Regions from separate parts of the Homo sapiens genome. Here all the other regions are linked to region 4. The links are contacts of gene promoters, found by promoter capture Hi-C in blood cells and fetal thymus (Javierre and others, 2016). All regions are on one chromosome and are shown on one strand. The core of a region is centred on a gene start or on the middle of the fragment in contact, and the rest is flanking DNA. Distances in the headings are between cores, read along the strand shown. Region 1 has its middle 4.1 kb from the start of LINC02771. Region 2 has its middle 21 kb from the start of LINC02771. Region 3 has its middle 16 kb from the start of LINC02771. Region 4 holds the start of BATF3 (basic leucine zipper ATF-like transcription factor 3).

Region 1 (6,083 bases), core at 3,404-5,903, 220 kb after region 4:
TATCACAATGTCACACAGGACATCCAGTTAAGTTTCAATTTTTAAAAAAATAAAAAATGTGTAAAGATCCCAAATATTACATGGGACCTATTTATACTAAAATTTTATCTGATTTTCAAATGTAACTGAGTGTCCTCTGTTTTATCTGACAGACCTCTACCTAGGGCTATGCATGCCTGGGGTCCCAGAGGTGACTGGGGTCTGTGCAGTCCAGTTTCTAAACCACAGTTTTAGGGAAAAGTGTGGCTCTCTCGTTCTGCTTCCCTCTCCTGTCCCTGGAGCCATTCTGCTCTTGAGCAGAGCTAAGGCTCCCTTCCCCAGCAGCAGTGCCTGAGACCCCAGCATCTGTGTGCTTCCAGTGGAGGAAAGTCTATGAAACAATGGACTTAGTTTCCTGAAGCGTTGGAGTGTTTCCTTTTTTCTTTCTTTTTTTTCCTGAGACAGGGGTTCACTCTGTCACCCAGGCTAGAGCTCAGTGATGCGATCTCAGCTCACTGCAGCCTCGACCTCCTGGGCTCAAGCGATCCTCCCACCTCAGCTTCCGGAGTAGCTGGGATTACAGGCGTGAGCCACTACGCCTGGATGGAGTGTTTTCTAAGGGTCAGAATAACTCCATACATAGCCAACATTTATGACAAACAACTATATCAGTTCACACAATCACTTCAAGTGAAACAGATTGCTTCATACTCTGTTTCCACAGAGGTCCTCCTTCTCCCTGATGGATGGCCGCCTGTCCTGGGCAGGCACATTATAAAACTGCAGCTGCCTTGCTTTCCCCTTCCTGCTCCCCAGCCCATTCCTTCTGTGAGGAATGACCACACTCAAACCATTCATCCTGGTTCTGTTGGGTGGATACTGGTGACTTCTGCGGGAACCAGTGCTGGAGATGACGGGGCAACTGACACACCTCTCTGTCTTCACTCCCCTCACCCCAACAAAGCAGCAAAAGGACTTCTTGGATACTCAGATGAACTCCTGAGTGCCTTCCAGAATGAGCTCATTCTAGAGAGGAAACCGGTGAATCCCGCAGAGGACATCTGTTGATTTTTGTCTGCTTACATTTGAGTCCTTCCTATGTGGAGGAGTCCTCCAGGGGGTGGTCTCGACAGGAAGCAGACAGTCTTCTAGGGCCCATGTTTGACCCAGGCTCAGCCCGTGGGATGCTCAGGCTGGGGGCTTTGACTCTTGAGGGAGAGACAGGTAATTAGAGACGGTGCACACCTGTAGTCCCAGCTACTCAGAACACTAAGGTGGAAGGATTGCTTGAGTCTGGGAGGTCAAGCCATGGCAGTGGGGTCGAGAGTCCAGCAGTCCATGGTAACTGGTAGCAGAATTCACACAGGCATCCTGACCCCGAGGCTGAGCGGCTGTGACTAGGTTCTTAGCTACCTGGCCTTCAGGGTGTTCCCTGCCCATTTTCCCGAACCTGGTTTGCCAGACACGAATCAATCCTGTAAACCATCCAATATTCTTTCTCATAAGCTCGTTCTTAGCTTGAGTTAGCCAGAGTGAGTTCCTGCCGTTTGCAGCAAGAGCACTCACAGATACAATCTATAGGTTGTCACACTTCACCCCTCTCACTCACTGCCCCACTCCGTGGTGATGTTAAATAAAATTTATAGGAGCCCATTGTTTTGGACTGAGGTCCTACACTAGGCCCCAACAGACCAAGCCAAAATGGAGTCACTCGTGCTAAGTGCTGCATAATCAAACTGAAACTTTATGAAGCAGGAAAATCCCCTAACAGATCATGTTTTCCTAAAAATAGGAGATTTATGGCAACCAATTGGAAAGGGCCCAGTAAACCTGAGCTGGCACGATAAGATAGTCCTCTTTCCTTTAACCCTTATAAGGAAAGCAACCTGACGTTAACTCATCTGCTTTTTTGTGGTATTCTGTTTCCTTGTTCCTGCTCAAGCTACCTTACAATGGATCTGTCGTGCCGAGTGGAACTCCCTCTATTTTGGAAGATATGCTGTCTGATTCCTGGATCACTAATAAAAGCCAAGTAGGGCTAGGCACAGTGGTGCATGCCCGCAGTCCCAGCTACTCAGGAGGCTGAGGCAAGAGGATCACTTAAGCCCAGGAGTTCAAGACTGTAGTGAGCTATGATTGCCCCATTGCACTGCAGCCTGGACAACAGAGTGAGACTTTGTCTCAATTAAAAAAAAAAAAAAGGTTGGGTGTGGTGGCTCATGCCTGTAATTCCAGCACTTTGAGAAGCCAAGGCTGGCAGATCACTTGAGCACAAGACCAGCCTGGGCAACATGGTGTAACCCCTTCTTTTACAAAAGAAATAGCTCAGCTTTATGGTGCGCATCTGTAGTCCCAGCTACTCTGGAGGCTAAGGTGGGAGGATCGCTTGAGCCTGGGAGGTCAAGGCTGCGGTGAGCCGAGATCGCACCACTGCAACTCCAGCCTGGATGACAGGGCAAGACCCTGTCTCAAAAAAAAAAAAAAAAAAAAGGAAAGCCAATTACTTGTTTCACTATGTTGAAATTTTATTTTTTAACAGTGCCCTTGGTTGGCCAGCTCTGCGCATAAAAGTGAAGATGGCGTGGCAGATGCCAAGAGACCCACAAAGGGGCTGTGCAGATTCCGGGAGTGAGATGTGGCGGTGTCTGGAAGGACAGAGCAAGAAGAGCAGGTCTGGGGTTTCCCAGGCCAGATGCTTGTCTACCCTCTACTGCTCTCTAGTGGCCAGAGTCCAGAAGCCGGGCAAGCCTTTCAGCTTTCCTCCTCAGAATAATGTCAGAGCAAGTGGGAGCACAGAGGAGAAGCTCCCGGCTCTACAGGTCAGAGGACACAGTGCTTCCACTGAGCGTCATAAGTCTTTATAATGGGGCCAGACCAGCTGGCAGGGCTGTGACAGGCAAGGTGCAGGGAATGACATGGGCAAAACCATGGAGACTTGAGATTATATTGCACCGTCAGAGAATGCAAATTATTTGGTAGGACCAGAAGCTAGGGTGTGAAGAGGGTGGTGAAGAATGGGCCTGAGACCAGTGGAACAGAACAGAAGCCTCAGAAATAACACCACACATCTACAACCGTCTGATCTTTAACAAACCTGAAAAATAAAAAAGAAATGGGGAAAGGATTCCCTATTTAATAAATGGTGCTGGGAAAACTGGCTAATCATATGTACAAAGCTGAAACTGGATCCTTTCCTTACACCTTACACAAAAATTAATTCAAGATGGATTAAAGACTTAAATGTAAGGCCTAAAACCATAAAAACCCTAGAAGAAAACCTAGGCAATACCATTCAGGATATAGGCATGGGCAAGGATTTCATGACTAAAACACCAAAAGCAATGGCAACAAAAGCCAAAATAGACAAATGGGATCTAATTAAACTAAAGAGCTTCTGCACAGCAAAAGAAACTACCATCTGAGTGAACAGGCAACCTACAGAATGGGAGAAAATTTTTGCAATCTACCCATCTGACAATGGGCTAATATCCAGAATCTACAAAGAACTTAAACAAATTTATGAGAAAAAAAAAACCCCATCAAAAAGTGGGCAAAGGATATGGAACAGATACGTCTCAAAAGAAGACATTTATGTGGCCAACACGCAGGAAAAAATGCTCATCATCACTGGTCATTAGAGAAATGCAAATCAAAACCACAATGAGATACCATCTCACGCCAGTTAGTATGGCGATCATTAAAAAGTCAGGAAACAACAGATGAGATGCTGGAGAGGATGTGGAGAAATAGGAATGCTTTTACACTGTTGGTGTAAATCAGTTCAACCATTGTGGAAGACAGTGTGGCAATTCCTCAAGGATCTAGAACTTGAAAGACCATTTGACCCAGCAATCTCATTACTGGGTATATACCCAAAGGATTATAAATCATGCTACTATAAAGACACATGCACACGTATGTTTATTGTGGCACTATTCACAATAGCAAAGACTTGGAGCCAACCCAAATGTCCATCAATGATAGACTGGTTAAAGAAAATGTGGCACATATACACCATGGAATACTATGCAGCCATGAAAAAGAATGAGTTCATGTCCTTTGCAGGGACATGGATGAAGCTGGAAACCATCATTCTCAGCAAACTATCACAAGGACAGAAAACCAAACACCGCATGTTCTCACTCATAGGTGGGAACTCAACAATGAGAACACTTGGACACAGGGCGGGGGAACATCACACACCAGGGCCTGTCAGGGGGTTGGGGGCTGGGGGAGGGATAGCATTAGGAGATATACCGAATGTAAATGACAAGTTGATGGGTGCAGCAAACCAATATGGTACATGTATACCTATGTAGCAAACCTGCACGTTGTGCACATGTACCTTAGAACTTAAAGTATAATAAAAAATAAATAAATAAAAAAGAAGAAGAGTGGGTTTGAGAGATGGCCTGAGGCTTTGCCTAGAAGGGAGTTTGGAATGCATCATAGACCATTGAAAGCCTTCCAAGGGTTTAAGCAGGGGCATAATATAGGGATTCCTCCTAGAAAGAAACATTCTCAAATTTGCACTTTAGAAAGATCATTTTAGCAAGAGTGTGGAGTATGGAATAGAGAGTCTAGTAGCTGAGGCCCTGCCCTCAGCTAAGCAATGTCAGTGGGGACAGAGAAAAGAGAACCCATTCATCCTTTATTCATTCATCTAAGACATATGCCAGGCTTGCTGGAATTGCAAAGCTGCGCCCAGAAACCCACATTCTCCCCTTTCTGCACAATGTGGAAGAAAGCCACGGACCTGCCCACATACTTGGAGCCCCAAAATCTTGACCGTCGCTGGCAAGAGTTGGAGCCTGATTTGTGTGGGCAGTTCAGCTGCTTTATTTTTTTAGCATTGATAACTGGCATACTGATTAGGTAACAACTCTTAAGAATTGAATAGTACTACATCGCCATTTTATAGGAATAAGGAAATTGAGGCATAGCAAGGCAGGTTCCACCCAAGGCCAGCTGGCTCCTGAGTCTATCCTCTTAACCATTCGCTATTCCTTCCTCTTTGTGCTGATCACACAGCAATGCTCAGGATGCTCAGAACAGCTTTGGGGAGTGTTTTGCCTCTAATGTCCTCATCTTGTTCTCTAGCCTCATTCAACCTGTTTCCTGTTCCCTGGAAGTCATTTTATGGCTAAATAAATCCCAACGAAATGTTAACTCTGAAGACAGGCACCTCCTGCCTTCTCCCCTGGACCCCCTTTCTGCTTGGAGTCCTGGTGTTTGCCATAGTGTCTGTATTTTCAGAAGGTTAATGGGTGCAGGATCCCACATTAGGACTTACAGGGAGGGCTCAGCCTCTGACCTCAGAAAATTCAGGTCCCAGGGGGAGTCAAGACAGATGAACTATTCAGTCTGTTCGTTATTCTAGCTATCAGCATCTTCAGCTAACCTGGTGTTTTTTAATGTAGTTTGAGAGTCTCTAAATTGATTTCATGACCCACTAACTAGCATCTCAAATCACATTTTATTTAAATGAAATTGAATGAAATACAAAACATGAAGTGTATTGCATATAGTACAATTAATAATTGTTTCAAGAAAATTTCTGTTTTAGTTGTGTGTATCTGAGTGTATATGTGTGTGTGTGTGTGTGTACACACTTGATTACAATATAAAATACATTTCTTACTGTGAGTCCAGTCAAAAAGTTAAAGCACCACATATCTTAATATTTTCTCCCTCTGGCTTCACAATAATTGTTTGCAGCAGTTTTACAACCTATGGTTTGTTCAAGGAAATACGAAAAAAGAGTTTTGATCCGCGGACCTGTGAAGGAGCAGAGGAGCCAGGCTGAGCCAGCACATGAGGGAAGCCCTTGGATCCAGACACTGCAGCAGAGCTAGGGCTGGCCAAAGGGCTGCATGGACAATAACTGGCTCACACTGAGGGCCCCGCTCCTCACCTGCCTATCTTAAGCCACCTGTTCTCTCTCTCTCTCTCTCTCTCTCTCTTTTTCTTTAAATACAGATGGCGTCTCGCTATGTTGCCCAGGTTGGTCTCAAAACTCCTGACCTCAAGCGATCCTCTCACCTCAGCCAACCAAAGTGCTGGGATTACAGGCATGAGTCACTGCACCTGGCCCAGTCACCTGT
Region 2 (5,546 bases), core at 1,316-3,815, 210 kb after region 4:
TTTGGAGACAGACATGTACACAAGAAGAATGCATGTGAAGATAAAGGTGGAGACTGAAGCGATGTTTCTACAAGCCAAGGAACACCAGAGATCGCCAGCAAACCATCAGGAGCCAGGAGAGAGGGCTGGGGCAGATTCTCCCCCACAGCTCCCAGAGGGAACCAACCCTGACCTTGGACTTGTAGTCTCCAGAATTGTGACACAGTTCAGTTCTGTTGCTTTTAAGTAACTCAGTTAGTGGCACTTTGTTACAGCAGCCACTGCAAACTAATATAGGGACAAAGAGTGTTAGGGGAAGAGCAGGATTTTGGCTACCAGATCGGGTAAGGTCTATCTGAGGAGGTGACACTGGGGCTGAGACCTGAATATTGGGAAGGAGATGGTTGTGGGAAAAGCCGGGGAAAATCCACATCCTAGAGATGGAAACAAACCTGCCATATCTGCAGCAAAGCTGAAAGGTGTGTGTCTGGAGCCAGGTGAGGGAGGGTGGACAGGTTCAAGCTGAGGGCAGAAGGAAGGCAGGGCCCCAGAGCAGGTAGGGACTTTCATAGTACATGCTGGGAAACCAATGCGGGGAATGGTTTTAGGCAAAGAGTGATGTGAGACCCTACTTTCCCCTTGAAAAGATCCCTCTGGCTGCCCCAAGTGGACTTGAAGGTGAGGCAGGGGAAAGTCGGCTAGGAAGGTGAGGCTCAGGTTCAGCTGCAAAGTGATGGAGGCTCAGATGAGGGGTCTGGCGGAGGAGCAGGGAAGTGATCTGGTTGGTGATAAACTCTGGAGGCAGAACTCCAACAGGACTTGCTGGTGGACCCACCGTGGGATGAGACAAAAAGAGAGTCAACTGTGACCCTTACGATTTTGTCTGAGCAACAGAGTGGACAGCGCTGCTTTTTACTGTGGGATAATGAAGGGGTAGAGTGGAGAGTTGTTCTGAAGAGGGACAGCCAGCCTCCATCCAAACGTGACTTCTAAAATGAGGCCAAACTGAAGATTGAAGAAACAGAGTCCCTGTCCTGGAACTCAAAGCCTGAGGGACACAGATGTGTAAACAATAGCAATGCAACGTGTGAAGTAGCTGGTGACACAGCTGTGGGAGTGATTCTGGGGAAGTTGGACAGAAGAGGTTTTTGTTTTGTTTTGTCAAAAACCATTTCTAAGTTACATAAGTGCTGCAAAAATAGTACAAAAAATTCCCGATACCCTTCACCCACTTTCCCCAAATGTTAACATCTTACATGTTTACAGTGCATCATCAAAACCAGGAAATTGACATAACTACAAACCTGATTCAAATTTTGTCAATTGCCCCACAAATGTCCTTATCTGACCAGGAGCCGATCCAGGATCACATAGAGCATTTGTTGCCAAGCTTCCTTGTTTCCTCTAGTCTGGGATAGTTCCTCAGCTTACACTTACACTTTCATGACCTTCAAACATTTGAAGAATACTAGACACTTATTTTGTAGGATGTCCTTCAATTTGGGTTTAGCTGGTATTTCCTCAGGTTGTGAATTATTTATTTATTATTTATGTTTTTCTTTACTTATTTATTTACTTATTTATTTTGAGACAGGGTCTCACTCTGTCACCCCGGCTGCAGTGCAGTGGCACGATCTTGGCTCACTGCAACGTCCGCCTCCCAGGTTCAGGTGATCCTCCCACTTCAGCCTCCTGAGCAGCTGGGACTACAGGCACACTCCACAGCACGCTACGGCTAATTTTTAAATTATTTATAGAGACAAGGTCTCCCTATGTTGCCCAGGCTGATCTCAAACTTCTGGACTCAAACGATCCTCCTGCCTCAGCCTCCCAAAGTGCTGATATTACAGGCATGAGCCACCACGCTCAGCCAAATTTTTTAAGAGCACCACATAAGTTTATGTTGTGCCTTTCTTGGTACATTATATCAGATGGTACATGAGGTTGATATGTTCTATTATTTATTATGTTAACTCTGATCACCTGGTTAAGGTGGAGTCTGCCACATTTTTCCTACTATAAAGTGACTACTTTTCTCTTTGCAATTACTAACCATCTTATGGGAAGGCGCTTTGAGATAATGTAAGCATCTTGTTTCTCTACATTTTCGCTCATGAGTGTTTGTTTCCATTGATGATTCTTGCTTAACACAACTATAATGGTAAGTGTTTGCCAAGTGTTTTCTATTTCCATCATGCCTTCTAATTCCTACTAATTATAATGCTGCTTTAAGGAAGAACTCTCCCTTCTTGCCTGTTTATTTGCTTATTCGAATATTTACCTCTATTGGTATAGACTCATTACTTCTTGTTTTATCCTTAAATGCTGTAAGTTATAATCTATTGTGATCATTATTTATTTTGTGGCTCCAACTATCTCATTTTCGGCCATCAGCAGCCCCTTCAAGTTAGCTCGTGGGTTCAAGAGGAAAGTTTTGAGCAGGGTCATGAACAAGGCATGGGGGCTTGATAGAGAAGAGGGAGAGGAAAGGCTTCCAGGCCTGAGGGAGCCTTGAGGACATAGCTAGCACCCTCTGAGGATGTTGGCTGTCCTCTGAGCTGGCTGGTCCTCACTATGAGGGCCAGGAGGATGCAGCCACACACCTTGCTCAGATGGACAGACCTCCACAGAACGCCATGTCCGTGTGGGCTTCGCCGCCAGCAGGACTTCCTCAAGGATCTTCTGGAGCTGCAGCCATGAATTCCCAGCACTCAGGGTGTTAGTGCATCCACCTGGGTTTGCTCATGAGAAGCCCTCCACCATGTCCATGAACCCCTCCCGCCACCTCCTGCCTGCCATTGCTTTGCCAGACTGGATATCATCCAGGGCTGTGGTGTCCCCACTGCTCTGCCTGTGTCTGAAGGGTGTTTCCTGGACTTCTCTGCCTGAAGAACTTGTACCAGGGGAGGCTCTCAGAGCTATGGAGTGGCAGAACCATGTGTCCTACAGATTATTTAGCACACCGGCTATTGTTTTGACTTGTATGTTGTCATTTTCTCAATCCAGGGCCTCTGTGAAGTCTTGAGTGGATGCCCAATAGGCTAAACAGAAGGGAGTGGGTGGAAGGGGTAGAGGAATGGCAGTTGCAGGACCATCATTCTGGTCAAGGCCCCAGTTGGCAGGGATAGAGCTGGGCCCTGAAGGGAAAATGGCCAATCTAAGGTCACAGGGACAGTTGGTGGCTAAGCAGAACTAAAATCCAGTGTCCATGTCCTTCTCACCATTCCACATTCCCAATCCACTCTGCTTCTTGTTTATCAGCTACTGATGAGGCCACAGTCCGGGTGTACGTGTCCATTTCTCTTGTTTCCCCTGCAGGCAGAGAGATGGAGGCCAATCTTCTGGCCCCTTTCTGGGCCAGGGCCTCTAGGCACATGGGCAGCACTGACCACTTGCCCACAGGGAAGGGGAATGTCCTGGGTCACGTAGCAAGCACAAGGCTGAGGGCAAGTCTGGGATCACCTTGCAGCCTCTCCACTGTAGGCCCATGACCTCACCCAGACCAGCACTAAGTTAGCCACCCCTTCTTCCATCTCTTCTTCCTCTTCCTTCAGTCCCAGAGGGGAAATGGGGCCCTTTTTCTTTTTTTCTTTTTAAATTTCAAATTAAGGGCTGGATGCTGTGGCTCACAGCTATAATCCCAGGAATTTGGGAGACTGAGGCAGAAGGATCGCTTGAGGCCAGGAGTTTGAGAGCAGCCTGGGCAACATAGCAAGAACCCATCTCTATTTTTTTAATTAAAAAAATTAAAAATAAATAAATAGATTTCAAAGTAAGCTTACAGTAGGTTAAACATTCACGATTCAAAATTCAAAACATACAAAAGTTATGCTGTAAGAAGTCTCCTTTTTGACCCTATCCTGTGGACACTCACTTTCCAGCTGTGGTTAGTTTCTCCTGCAGCTTTCCAGAGATGTCTGCATAAGGCCTTACAAATGGTTTCTGTAAAGAGCCAGGTAGAAAATACGTTCAGCTTTGAGAGCCATAGGCCTCCTCTCACAACTTTTCAATACTGCATGGTAGTACAAAAGCAGCCACAGATGATACCTAAACTAATGAATGTGGCTGTGTTCCTGTGAAATTTTTTTATGGACACTGAAATTTGAATTTCATGTAATTTTCATATATCACAAAATATTATTCTTGGCCAGGTGCAGTGGCTCACGCCTGTAATGCTAGCACTTTGGGAGGCCAAGGCAGGTGGATCACCTGAGGTCAGGAATTCCAGACCAGCCTGGCCAACATGGTGAAACCCCATCTGTACTAAAAATACAAAAATTAGCTGGGTGTGGTGGCACACACCTGTATTCGCAGCTACTTGGGGAGACTGAGACATGAGAATCCCTTGAACCCGGGAGGCAGAGGTTGCAGGGAGCCGATAGCCACTGCAATGTCCAGTCTGGGTGACAGAGTGACACTCCGTCTCAAAAATATATGTATAAATAAATAAATATTATTCTTAATTTTCCCTTAAACATTTAAAAATGTAAAAACCATGCTTAGCTCAAGAACTGTACAAAAATATAATATTTCAATGTATGGATGAACCATAATGTATTTAAACAATGTCCCATTGATGGACATTTAGGCTGGTTCTAGTTTTTTGCTATTGCATCTAATACTGCAGTGAATAAACTCACCCACACATAATGTTATGTGCAGGTAATGTATCTATAGGATAAACTGTGGGACATTTGATCAAATCTGAACAGCCTTCCAGCCTCCTCCATCTCCTTTCTCATCTTGCTCCCTTGGTACCTGCCAGTTAACATCAAATGTACTGAGAGCCTCACAAGTTCTAGCCACCTTGCCAGGTGCTGAACACCAGCCAATAGCCCAGCAGGACTGGTTTCTTCTTTCCTCATGTCACATAATCCCTGGAGTCTGGTGGACCAGAGCTTGCGTTGCAGCTCCTCGCCACACCTCAGTTTCCCAGGCTCCTTCTACCCTTTTGCTCTGCCATACTTAGGATGTGATGTGACTTCCATCTTCAAGGTTGCCATATGGTCGTGACATGGCCACTGTGGCTCCAGACATCATATTCTCATCCCATAGAATAAAAGAGAAAAGAGGGTAAGAGGCAGCAGAGCACACATCCGTGGAGTCAGCCTCCTTTAAAGGGCTTTCTCGGAAGTCATCCCCAGATGCTTCCATTTTCATCTCATTGGCCTTACCTGTGACCCATGAGCCCCTGAATGCCAGGAAGCCTGGGAAGTTTGTTAGCTGGACACATTGCTCCCCAAAGCAACATTGGGATTCTGTTAGTGAAGAAGTGGAGGAAGTAGATACAGGGTAGTTAGTTAGCTGTCTACCACAGTTGGGATAATCTGGAAGACTTCGTGGAAGACATGGGCATCAGTAGAATTCAGACAAGAATTTAGCGCATACCAAGAACTTTATTGCATGCTGGATAGGTGGGGGAGGGGAGGCTCCTTCTGTTAAACTCACATGTGAGGGAACAGTTTCAGTTCCCATTTCGGATATAAGGAAAACAAAACCTAGAGCTCTCCACTCACTCAGGGTCACACGGCAAGTAAATGGCAGAGTCCAGCTTCCAATTCCAAAAC
Region 3 (5,890 bases), core at 2,539-5,038, 240 kb after region 4:
AGACACGGAACGACAAATACTGCATGATTCCACTTAAATGGGTATCTAAAATAGTCAGACTCATAGAAGCAGAGAATAGAAGGGCAGTTTCCAGGGGCTGGGGGAAGGGGAAATGGAGAAATGTTGCTCAATGGGTATAAAGTTTAGTTATGCGAGATGAGTAAGTTCTGGAGATGTGCTGTACAACATGGTGCCTGTAGATAACGATACAGAATTGCACCCTTTAAAATATGTTGAGAGGATAGATCTCATGTTTAGTGTTCCTACTACCAAAAAAACAAACCAAAACACAAAAGAACACAAGGAAATTTTTGGAGGCGATAGAGATGTTTAGTACCTAAATTTTGGTGATGGTATCACAGGTGTATGCATATGTCCAAACTCATCAAGATGTACTCTTTATATGTATGTGATTTTTTTGTGTATCTATTATACCTCAGTAAAGCTTTATAAATGATCAAAACAAAACTGTGTTCCCCCCACACACACCACCCCAATACAAACACAGAAGAGCTAGGCAAAAGGAAACTCTATAATGGCAGGGAACTGCTCTGATCCTGCCTGGTGGGCCACCTGCTTTGTGGAAGTTTTCACATCTAGTGTTCATTATTCTTTCTTCTGAGACTGTCTTCCTAGCCCCTCCCCTCCTCCCCCTCAGCCACACCCCCATCAGCCAGAGCTGCTCAGTCAGTCCTCGAGGAGGGCCATACATGTGTTCAGGGCTCCCAGCACTTCCTGCCACATAGCAGGTCCTCTGTGGATGTTGGGTTCCTTGTCTTTTCTTTTCTTTCTTGGGTTCACCTTGCAAAGGAGAACCAGTCAAAGACTCAGTCAAGTTACTTCAAGGAAAACAGATTTTCTCCATGAGAAAGACACTAATGGGGAAGGAAACAGAAACCCACGGCATCTGAGGCAGCAACCTTCTCTGTACCCTCTCCCAACGGCCCCAAGGTCTCCCACTCGAGTTTCTCTCCTCCCTCGGCCCAGCTTCTCCATCAGTTCTGCTCACACTTGGTGAGGGAGGGTGGGCATGGAGAAGGCCATGGCCTCTCCTCCTGGGAGCATTTTGAGACCAGGCCAGGCCACAGCTAAGGTGCAGATCAGCAGGGAGGCAGAGAGGGAGGCGTGTGCTAAGATGACTGGAACTGAGATGGCACCTGTCCTTTCTTCCTGAGATGTGGAGGCCCGCAGAGAGAAGAGCTGAGAACAGAATTACTGGCCTCTCCAAGGATAAGCCAGCCCTTCTTTCTCAGAGTAGAGCAGTTACTAACCACCGAGGGGTTAGACAACTGCTTTTGATCTCCCCAGGGCTCAGAAGGGCACAAAAGGCCCCCCACAGTCCAGGAAACTCATGTTAGGGGTTGGGACCCCTTAACACTAATGTCAGAGATGCTAAGAAGGTATCATGGAGGAAGCACTACCACCCCAAGGACGAGGCAGCAAAGGGGTGCATTTGGAATGATTAAAACTTAGAGACAGGAGCACCTTGTGGGGCTGGAACCAGACATCTGGTGAGGTGGGGGGTGCCTGCCGGCTGGTGTTGGCCTCTGAATTAGGGGTGAAGTTAGTTCTACAAGTGTTAGAAAGATTGTAAACTGAATTTAGCTGCTGCTATGGTAAGGAACTGCTGCTGCCGGGGTGAAGAAGTACTACCGGAGCCGCTTACAAGAACAGAAGTAAACAAGAAAAAGAGGGCTTCCCTCCAGCTTTCCAGTGTCCTTCTAGCACCCCCTACTGGCTGAATCCGATAGGAAGCAGCTGCCAAAGCCAAAAGTGGTTTGCCAAGTCCCAGCCCTACCATCAAAGAAGAGAGAATAGAAGAAGGACTAGAGTGACCAGGAGCTGAAGCCTGAGCCTGCTCTCATGCACACATGTGTGCACGCACACTTGCCTATGCTCACAGGTATACACCTACACATGGACCACAAGCGCCCTCTCCACAGATTTGATTGTGGGTCCTACGCTTTGGGTGTCACGCAAAGTCAGCAAACCTCAAGGCCTTGACTACAGAGACTTTTCTGATTCTGAAACTCCGGCCTCAAACATCACCCATCATCGTCCCATCCCCAAACAGCCACCAGTTTGAGTCCTTTCTGTAAAAAGGAAGCTCAGAGTTCTCCATCTCTGGAGAGATACCTGGGCTTTCAGGGAGAAAATGTCAACAGCAGCCACCCCATGTCTCCTGGAGGGGACTCCAGTAGAGGCCCAGGGAAAAGCAAGCTCTGCACCAAACTGCCCAGTGTGTAGTGAACACAACAGAGCTCATTTACCAACAGGAGGCACACACTAAACACATTCTTCTGGTCTCTGCTTAATCCCAGCTCATTCTGTCTTATTAGGTCCCTCTGCTCTCCTATTGTTTTCCACCACTGTGCATTGCTGTGTCGTTCAGAGCATGTGTCACAGTGTGCTTTTTTTTTTTCCAAAATGTGCTGTCTGTCTATCTCCTCCTCTAGATTGCCAACTCACAAGAGTGGGGCCATGCCAGCTTCTTCCACCCCTGCAGACTCAGGGCCTGGCACATCATAAGTCTCAAGTGTTTGTCAAATGAATCTATTAAAAAATAGAAAATGGCTCTAGAGGCATTGAGATAAATGGACAGGTGATGGATCTGTAGATTGGGGTGTATGCGACATAACGAACTCTGAGGAATGTTGTGGAAGGCAATTGCTCTCCTGTCCTACAAACCATCTCCAGATAAAGAGGACAGCAGGCAGGATGACTGCTCTGCCATCATGGTGTTTCTGCTGTGCTTGTGACTCTGTTCAGCCCTGTACATCCATGGAGATTAGGGCCTGAACCCAGGCTTCTCCCCTCATCCCAACTTCACCTCTGCTTCTTGGAAGGCATGGGGCTCATTGAGTGTTATAGCTGGTGGGACCCTATAGATTACAAAGGTGGCTCCACATCACCATCACCTGGGGAACATTTAAAAACATCAGTGTCTGGACACTACCACTAGTTTCCGATTCTTTGAGTTCCACAGTTCAGTGTAGCATAGTGGATGCCCAGAAACATGAACTCAAGTCCTAACTCTGCCACATACTGTATGATCTTGGCCAAGTTACTTGACTTCTCTCTGCCTCGATTTCTGGAGATGACAGCAGTATCAATCTCACAGGCTTGTTGTGAGGATCAAAGTCAACAATGTATGTGAAGCTCTTGGTGCAATGTCTGGCTCAGAGTAAATACTGAATAAAATGTAGCTATTATTGAAATTATTATCTCACAGCTACTTAGCGGCTGGCGTGGGATGAGCCTCCTGATCCTGGATCCAGTGTTCTTTCCAACACGTCACTCTGAATGTGCACACAGCCTGAGGTCAGACTCGGCAAGGCAAACATATAGTTGCTCTCCCTGGGACCCTTTAATTAAACCGTATGGAACAGAGAACTGCCCCTGAGAACCAACAGCAGATCTGACCCCTGGGAAGCAGAGAGCTGGAGAACACAGGAGTTCGGCAGTGCAGCTTTCAGGTCCTTTGGGAAGCCATTTGGCTGCTTCTGTTAGCATTTCATTATGGAAATACTGGGAACCAAAAATAGAAGTTCTTGAGGGAGCTTAATCCTCTGGGCTTTACAAAACAGCTGCTGGAGAGTTCCCGGAATTGACCACCAGGGGGCACTGTCGTCCCATGCAGGCAGCTGCTGGTGGGTCGGACCAGGACAGAAGTGTCCAAGAAAAAACCAACACCCTTCAGCAAGCTCCTACCCCAAGCCTGCCTTGCTGGGGACTCTGTGGCTGGGATCCCTGTGGATCTCCACAGCTCCTGGTCCTAGAGAAACCACTTTGCAACTCAGCCCACTGCTCTCCTCTTTGGGGACCCTTAAGAGCAGAGCAGGTTCCTGCATTTATTTTAATCGATCCTTCCTCCCACCTCACCCCAAAACCAGGACCTAGGGCAGTGCTGGACATATAATAAGCAAGAAATATGCATCTCCTTTGTTGATTAATGGATATGTGAAATCAGGTGCAATTGTTAAATTGTGGGACGTATCAAATAACAAAATTTCAATAAATTGAGCTGTAAAGGTCTAGTTTGCCTTTATTAGCAATTCATGAACTGGGCAGTATCCAGTCTACAAAATAAAAAGGAACTCCCATGAGCTGAGCTAAGGGCTGAGCTTATAGGCAGAAAAGGCTGAAGAAAGCCAAAACAAGAAATAAGATGCAGATTGGCCGTTTCAAAGTTACTTTCCTTATTGAGGATCTTGTTAGCCTAATGGGATATGACTATCAACTCTCTCCTGATTTCTCAGAAGCTCAGATCCAAGTAAACAGCTTCGTTTTTGGTTTCGTGGTGCGGAACCTTAGTGTGAGTGACTCCATTTTGGATGGGTCTGTTGGACCCTAATGCAGGAGGTCAGTCCAAATAATGGCCTCCCATACATTTTGTTTAACAGAAGGAAACTGCTTGATCTTTGAAGGAATGGCAGAGAGAGTGCAGTGGTGTGAATCAGACAGAGGTTATGAGTGACAGTTAAGGGGAGGGTCATGGATAAACGGGAAAGGGGAAGAAGTGAGAGGGCTCAGGCAGGAAGGCAACAGATGTATTTCAGGGATCCTGAGTAGTAAGAGATTCCTCAATGTGGAGGCCAAATCCAGAAATATGGGGGAGATTAGACAAGGGAGTCCCAGCCACAGCTCACATGGCCTCCAGGTGGGCATCACCGGCCACCACAGCCACTATGACCTCTCCTATCTTTGGGGTGGCTTGCAGCTGCCACCAGCAGGCTCTGAGCTCCCACAGGTGGGCCTGGGTCCCACGACCTCCCTCTGGGTGATGCCATGGGGCTTAGTACCCTGAGCCTGTATCACACATCCTTAGTCCGAGAGAGCCTCTCTCAAATGACAGCAGGTCTTGTTCACCACAGAATTCTGTGAAGACTAGAGCACAAGAAATACTTGTTAACTAAAGGATTAAACTATGTGTTAAAAAAAAAAAAAAAAAAAAAAAGCAAAACAAGGCCAGGTGTAGTGGCACATGCCTACAATCCCAGCACTTTGGCAGGCCGAGGCAGGAGGATTACTTGAGATCAGGAGTTCAAGACCACCCTGGCCAACATAGTGAAACTCTGTCTTTACTAAAAGTAAAAAAATTAGCCGGGTGTGGTGGCAGGTGCCTGTAATCCCAGCTACTTGGGAGGCTGAGGCAGGAGAATCACTTGAACCCAGGAGGCAGAGGTTGCAGTTTGCACCATTGCACTCCAGCCTGGGAGACAGAGAGACAGACAGACACACACATACACACACACACACACACAGAAGTAGAGTCTCTCTCCACAGGACCTCCAGGTACCTTCCCTGGCTATGATTTTAGAGTCTCTGCCACCAGCTCGGCATGCCACATCCTAATTCCAATGGCCCTGGGGTGGAGCTCCCTGGAAGGCTCGATCTTGAAGCACAACAGGGCAGAATGGAAAGTGGCCAGGCTGGAAGGAAGACTTGCCTTGGAATCTCAGCTCCAGCACCTCTCAGTTGTCAGAGGTGTAGTTTCCCTTGCAAGTTACTTATGCTTCCTAAGACCCAACCAAATGTTAGTACCACCTTGAAGAGAATAAATTAAGCCGCAAACATGGCATGCCAGCACCTGGCTCATGCTAGCCCAGTGCCGCTATTGCAATGACCATCAGCACCGACTTGGACAAGAGGCAGGGGCAGGGGCAGTGAGGCAGGAAGTAGGCTTCAGCTGGGAGAGGCAAGGACAGGGTAGAGGTAACTGCAGCCAAGGGGGCGGGGGGACAGCAGGGGAGCAAAAGCCTGGCTCACACACAGGGAAAAGACAGCAGCAGCCTGGCTGATCAGGCTACTCTGAAATAGCTGCACCCACCAGCCACCCACTGGAGACCTTAGGCTTCCGCTCCCTGACACCTCAGGGTCACACTCGCTC
Region 4 (6,295 bases), core at 939-3,438:
GTAGCTGGGACTACAGGTGTGCACCACCACACTCAGCTAGTTGATTTCTTTTAATTTTTGGTAGAGTTGGGGGTCTCACTATGTTGCCTATGCTTCCATGACTTAAATAAGAATTTAATTCTGCTTTAGCTCTCTGATTTTCATTTCTGTATCTAGCTATTTAATCCATTCATTTTGATGTATGATCTTTACATCAAATTGATCTCTGCCCTAAATGCTACCTAGTTAACCAAGACTAAATGTATTTGAAGAAACCCTTGCGTAACACAAGACAGTAGACTATGCCTATATAAAGAGTTCGTGTGTGCTGGGACATGGTTTCAGGCTCCCTGGGGAGAGACAGGGAAGCAGCAGCCCCAAAGGACTTAAAATGTGATGTGGTTCAGTGAGAAAAGTGGGCATGACCAGAATAAAGTGTAGGAGTGCACGGGAATGTTCCCGAGGTGTTTCTACCTTGCCTTTTCTGTGCATAAAAAACACTGGGGAATGAAATCACTTCTGAAAATGATAACCCCTTGACCCAGATGTTTTCCTAGCTCGTTAGAGCCCTTTTAGTGCTTCAGGAATGAGAGCTTTCAGCTGACCTAGTGCAATACATATACTGAGCACCTGTTGAGTGTATGTAGCGTGCTATGCTAGGCACCTTGTGTGGGTACCTTGTGGGATGCAAAATAGTCCTGGGGCAACCACCAGTTAAGCTGAGTGATGAAATAACGGAGAGGAAAAGATTAATCCGGGCAGATAACCCAGCGTAGCGCTGGCTCTGCTGCGCAGCCTTGCTGCTGTGGAGTGTGGCGCTGCAACTCTAAAGGGCTGCGTCCACCCTCCGTCTTCCTCCCCGCCTCTCAGTTGGCCGAAGCTTCTGATCACACAGACAAGAATCTCCGCTCGCTTTCCCGCTGGCCTCCAGGCAGCCAAGTTCACTCAAGCTCTCTCAAAGCTTTTGCAAGAGTGGGTCTTAAATCCTGGCGGGGGGCACGTGCACTCATTTAAGACTTAAAAAGGAATCGGAAATGACTGTCCCCATGCCCACTGCTGCCCACAAACCTGAAGACCCAAGCGACCACACTTGGTAGGCACTTCTGCCCTTCTGGTCTGGTTCCCACCCGCCCATCCCGAATCGCGGTTATCTTTCCCGGTGCTCACAGCATGCAGACCACAGCCTGTGGCCGCTAGTGTTTCCTTCGCTAGGACCACGGGTAATTGTCTTGGCTTCGCATCTTTTGACTGGCAGGCAGGTGGACAGGGACTTGCCCTACCTCAACCCGGTCCCCAGCTTGGCACGAGCAGATAAATCTTGAAAAAGAAAAATGATCTGGGCCGTTTAACCGTGGCATGGCGGGTCCAGATCCCCAAACCTGTCACTAGTGACGTCCCACGTGGCAGATTCGCTCTCAGGGAAGCCCGTCACCGTTTTTGTCCGGGACATCCTCCCCATGCCCACCCTCCGCTCCGGGAATTCACCCTCGGGGCCGCCCCGCCTCGTTCCCTCCCACAGCCCGGCGGACCCGAGACGGGAAGGGCAGGCACTCCCTGCAGAGTCCCTGGGGCGCCCGTGGCTCGGGGTGCGCGGTGGGACTCGGTGAAGCCGGCGTCTTCACCCCAGAGCCGCGGCTTCGGGGCCGCTGGAGGAGCGAGAGTGGCGCCCGGATGACTGATCGCCGCGGAGAAAGTCCCCCGGGACTGTGACCCCCGCGCCGGGGGGCGGACGCAGGGCGTGGCTGAGGCGCAGGAAGATGCCGCGATGGGACCGGGAAAAAACACCGACCCCAAAACACCCACTGTGTTTCTCAACCTGAGTTCCCCGGCAGCCGCCGAAGGACCCCAAAGGCTGCATGGCGCCCCCCTGGTCCCCACCCCCCCGGGCGTCGCCTCGCGTGGGTGGGCTTCGCGTTCCCTCCGGGGTTTCAGAGCCACCACGTGACTTCCACGAAGCGCGGGGCGCCGGCGGAAAGCCGCGGCAGGGGTGGGATTTGGGACCCCGAGGTGCGGAGAGAGGGCGGGCAGAGGAGGAAACGAGGCGGGGGTGGGAGAAGGAGGGCGGGGCAGACGTGGGACGGGAAGGACGGCTGCCGGGACTGGCGCGCGGGGACACTGGGCCGACGCGTGGAGTAGCGGGGAGAGCGGGAAGCCTGAGGGGGCGGGGCCGGCGCGAGGCCGTGGGTGCGGCACGAGGATGCCGGCGGCGGGACAGCGCCCGTAGGCAGCCCCACGGGCAGGGCGCGCGGGCGGGGCGGGGCGGGCCGGGCCAGAGGAGCGCCCGGCATGTCGCAAGGGCTCCCGGCCGCCGGCAGCGTCCTGCAGAGGAGCGTCGCGGCGCCCGGGAACCAGCCGCAGCCGCAGCCGCAGCAGCAGGTAGAGGGCGAGAGGCTCAGGGAGGGCCGTGGGGTGCGGGGACCGGCGCGCCGCGGGGGGCGAGGAGGTGGGTGCTGGAGTTCCGTGGTGGTGACTGCGGAGGTGCAGAGGTGGCGGGTGCGGCCGGAGACAAGCAGAGGTAGGGGCGTAGGGATGTTGGGGAATGGGGGCGATCCAGGGACCCTGTCGTGCGCACAGTGTCCGCGGCTCCTGGAATGGCTCCTGAGCCAGCTCCTGCGCCCTCTGGGGGAAGAAGCCCGAGGGCGCCGACGCCTGGCTGGGCCGGGCATGGCCGGTGCTCCCCGGCACGTGGGCTCCGCACTGCCCTGAGGGCCGCCCCATCCTGGCGCAGCCAGCGACTGCCACCCCACCACCCGCGCCTGTAGCCCCTCCAGGATTCCCCCGGGTGGGGGGGGTGCTGCCGCGGGAATGGAGAACGCCGGACTAGTCAGCCTGGGCGGAGGGAACCCACAAAGGGCCGACTCCGCCCCCAGCTGGTGGAAACCCTTTGCCCCTTCCCAGTTCGCTGTCCCCTAGCAACGTTTACAGCGGCGCAGTCAGGAAGGAGACCAGGTTGGCCACAGGGACGGCCGTCTGGAAACTTTGCCTGGGTCTTGGCCACCTGCCTTACGACGAAGACTGGGTCTTTTCATCCTTACTCCCCACCTTCCCAATTCAGCGCCCGGCCCATGTCATCAGGTGTCGCTGGAGTGTCACAGAGATCTGAGTTTGGGCCTGGGCTTTGCCACACACAGGCTGAGCAGCCTTGAGCAATTTGTTTAACCTCTCGGACCGTCCATTTCCCCATCTGTAAAATGAATATAGTAACATCAACCTCTCAGGATTTTTGAGACTGAATCAGATATGGTTAATAACATAATACTATCTCTAACTTTCGCTCACCTCTTTCTGTCTTGATTAAATGTTTCTGCTGGGTTGGCAGGTGTGATCATGGTGATGAGTCCAGTTTAGAGTCAGCTCCCCGAGGGCAGTATGCAGGCTGCTTTCTTGTGCTAGTGACTTTTTGATTACAGAGAGCAAAGAGGCATGAGAAGCACTATGCAGAATACATTTTTTTTTAAAGTAGCAACTTCAACAAAGGCAGGTAACTTCTTGAGGGCATACTGTATGCTGGGAGCTTTAGGACAAAATCTCATTTCATCGCATCCCAATCCTAAGCATTAGGCTGTTAGCACCAAGTCTGCAGAGTTCACTGACCCTTTGTTTAGGGCTTGTATCCCCAGTGTCTAGAACAGTGTCTGGCACATGGTAGGTGCTCAGTTAATACATATTGAAAGAATGAATGAATTATGCTTACAATAAATGAGAAAACTGAAAATTTAGAGAATTTAAACCATTTACACAAGACCATGTTGACACTAAGAGACAAAACTAGGATCTGTGTGATTCTAAAGCTAAAGAGCTGTCTTCTAACCACATGTTCCCCTGTAATGTTCTGGTTTTGTTTATCAAGACTTCTTTGCCTCTCTAGAAGACTGTATTATCATACTTTGTTCCCTTAAGCTTCTATTTGCTATGTATGTTATTTATTCCTCTCCTTTTTATGCCTTTATATTCTTGCATATCTGAAACTTCTTACCTGCAGTAACTTGGGAAGATGTGTGTCTTATGTGGAATACAAGATGAGATCAAATGATAACTGAAAATATCCTTTTTTGTGTTATTAATATTTGCATTCCGTGAATATTAATAACTGAGTAGTTTTCCTTGTTTGTACCTCTTGGCTCTTAAACTCTGTAAGTGTGGTATTTTTCCCGCTTGGTGGTGTCTTCTCATGGGGTTCTAGAAAGCAAATACTGCTCTCCTTTTTCATGTTTTCTATAGCTGATTGAAGTGTTTTTACCATGGTCAGTGCATTTTTCCGCCTGCCTGTTTCATGATCACTATTGAGGGATTTGACTGAATTTGGTTAAATCTTACATATAGCTAACAGCTTTCAAGACACATAAAAAATTTGCTGACTTCTGAAACAAAATGTCAGCCAAGCATTGTTCAAATGAGTACACTGTCAGTGGGGTTTAAGATCATTTGGTGTGTTGGTAGAGTTATGTGGCTGCAATTAGTTGTAAGTGTAATCATGATTTGCATGCAGTATCAAAAGTACCTTTCATGTGTGGTGGTATAAGGACTGGCAAACAGCAAGTTCCAGATAGCAGATCTCTCCACCGCCCCCCACCCCCACCCAGCTTTCCAGTCTCAGATGGACGACATTGACACCACAGCTCTTCCAGGCACACGCCCTGTGGGCTAGAGGTTTATGAACGTTGATTTGGAGACCAACAGACCTGAGTTCCACTTCCCACTCACCCACTTAGTGGCTGTAATACCTGGAGCAAGGTCCTTAACCTCTCTGAGTTTCTTATTCCTCATCTTTTAAACGGCGGTCACACCACACACTTCACACACTCACATGGTGAGTGCTCCTGGGCAAGGGGCTGTTGTGAGCCCATTGGTATAGCAACTAGTGGTGCTGTCTACTGCAAAGCAAATGATGAAGCTCAGTGAACAACGCTGAGTGATGAGACAGGGCAGAAAAGGGTAAGGCGAGGGGCCACGACATCACACCCACCCAGTGTTTTTCCCCAGAGCCCTGAGGATGATGACAGGAAGGTCCGAAGGAGAGAAAAAAACCGAGTTGCTGCTCAGAGAAGTCGGAAGAAGCAGACCCAGAAGGCTGACAAGCTCCATGAGGTGAGACCGTGGTAGGGGCAAGCCACCTTAGAGCCACACAGCCTCTGCCTTGCACGGGAGTGGGGGTGATGACTGTTCTCTTTATCACGATTTCAGCAACACTCATATCTAATTTCTGCCAGGTCCTTCCAGCCCAGTGTTCTCACTGTTTGCTCACGGACGTGTTCATTTCTCCCTCATCCACTGAGTGCTTCTCATGGTCAAGTTTATTTCATTATAAAACAAAACAGAGCCTCTTCTGGACCCTGATTCCCTTTCAAGTTCTTGCTCCATTTCTTTTCTTCCCTCACGTCCTTACTTCCTGTTTTGTTTTGTTTCCCTCCAAAGTAATCCGCTAACATCTTTGCTTCTTAAAAAAGAGTAGTTACACCTGTTGTCTCTGTGTCCCTGGTTCCTGGTTATTCCCCAATCCTCTGTGATTTAATTTCTGCTACCCCCTTTCCACTCAACACACATATATATACACACAAACAAACACACACATTCACACATGTACCCAATGTGTGTGTGTACACACACACACACACACACACACACCCTACAGAAACTGCTCCCATTGCAGCCATCAGTGCCCTGGCACTGCCCTATCCAGGACTCTCTTTCTGGTCTCATCATCCTTTACCTTGTTAGAACATTCGACACTTTGGACCCATCTCTTCTTAAAGCTTTCCCCTCTTTTGCTTCTAAAAGACCACATTTCCTAGTTTTCCTAACCCTCTTCGCCGATTTTTTTCTCTATTTCTTTGTTAGCCTTCGACCCTTTATTGGCTTAAATGTTGGTGGTGACCAGTGTTTCAAACTCTGCCCTTTTTTTTTTTTCTCACCCTGGAAGACTTAATCTATTAATCTGTTCTCCCAGCATCAGCTCCCAACATTGATTACTCCAGGCAGGCCCTCTGTCCTGGACCCTAGACCCCATAGCTTCAGTGTCTGCTGAGCTGTTTCTCCATGGGTCCACTGCAGGCTCCTGTGATGTACCACATCCATAAAAGAGTGTTATTGTCCGTTTACCCTGAGACTTTCTCTTCTCATTGTCTTCAAACTGCAGTTAATGGAGCGAACCATCTTTCTCATCACTCAAATCAGAAGCCTAGGATTTATCCTAAGCCATTCCTTTTCCCTCCGCCCTCATGCATACACCTGCATAATCCTGCAGTTGGGACGTGGAGCTGCTCCATACCAGGAACTGGCCTTGAAAGCATCCAAGGATCTATCTGAGGAATGGGCC

What was found. Contacts are between HindIII fragments. The CHiCAGO score rates a contact against its expected background, and 5 or more counts as called.
Region 1: a contact is called between a fragment that was not itself captured here and the fragment with the promoter of BATF3 in region 4, in 12 of 17 cell types (megakaryocytes, M1 macrophages, M0 macrophages and 9 more). The highest score is 15.9, in megakaryocytes.
Region 2: a contact is called between a fragment that was not itself captured here and the fragment with the promoter of BATF3 in region 4, in 7 of 17 cell types (megakaryocytes, M0 macrophages, erythroblasts and 4 more). The highest score is 9.1, in megakaryocytes.
Region 3: a contact is called between a fragment that was not itself captured here and the fragment with the promoter of BATF3 in region 4, in 4 of 17 cell types (M0 macrophages, M1 macrophages, M2 macrophages and 1 more). The highest score is 9.1, in M0 macrophages.

Annotation. Positions count from the first base shown.
Region 1 is chr1:212,473,944-212,480,026 of GRCh38, reverse strand. No RefSeq gene overlaps it. Among named protein-coding and RNA genes, the nearest start is that of LINC02771, 4.1 kb to the right of the region's middle. The HindIII fragment of the contact is 9,575 bases long and covers 1-6,083 here.
Region 2 is chr1:212,491,549-212,497,094 of GRCh38, reverse strand. No RefSeq gene overlaps it. Among named protein-coding and RNA genes, the nearest start is that of LINC02771, 21 kb to the right of the region's middle. The HindIII fragment of the contact is 2,387 bases long and covers 1,372-3,758 here.
Region 3 is chr1:212,453,789-212,459,678 of GRCh38, reverse strand. No RefSeq gene overlaps it. Among named protein-coding and RNA genes, the nearest start is that of LINC02771, 16 kb to the left of the region's middle. The HindIII fragment of the contact is 6,682 bases long and covers 448-5,890 here.
Region 4 is chr1:212,695,733-212,702,027 of GRCh38, reverse strand. It overlaps BATF3 (basic leucine zipper ATF-like transcription factor 3), which reads left to right and starts at 2,188. Exons shown (of 3, transcript NM_018664.3): 1 at 2,188-2,355; 2 at 4,963-5,067. The coding sequence starts at 2,266. RefSeq lists silencers at 2,171-2,250, 2,441-2,890. The HindIII fragment of the contact is 2,939 bases long and covers 943-3,881 here.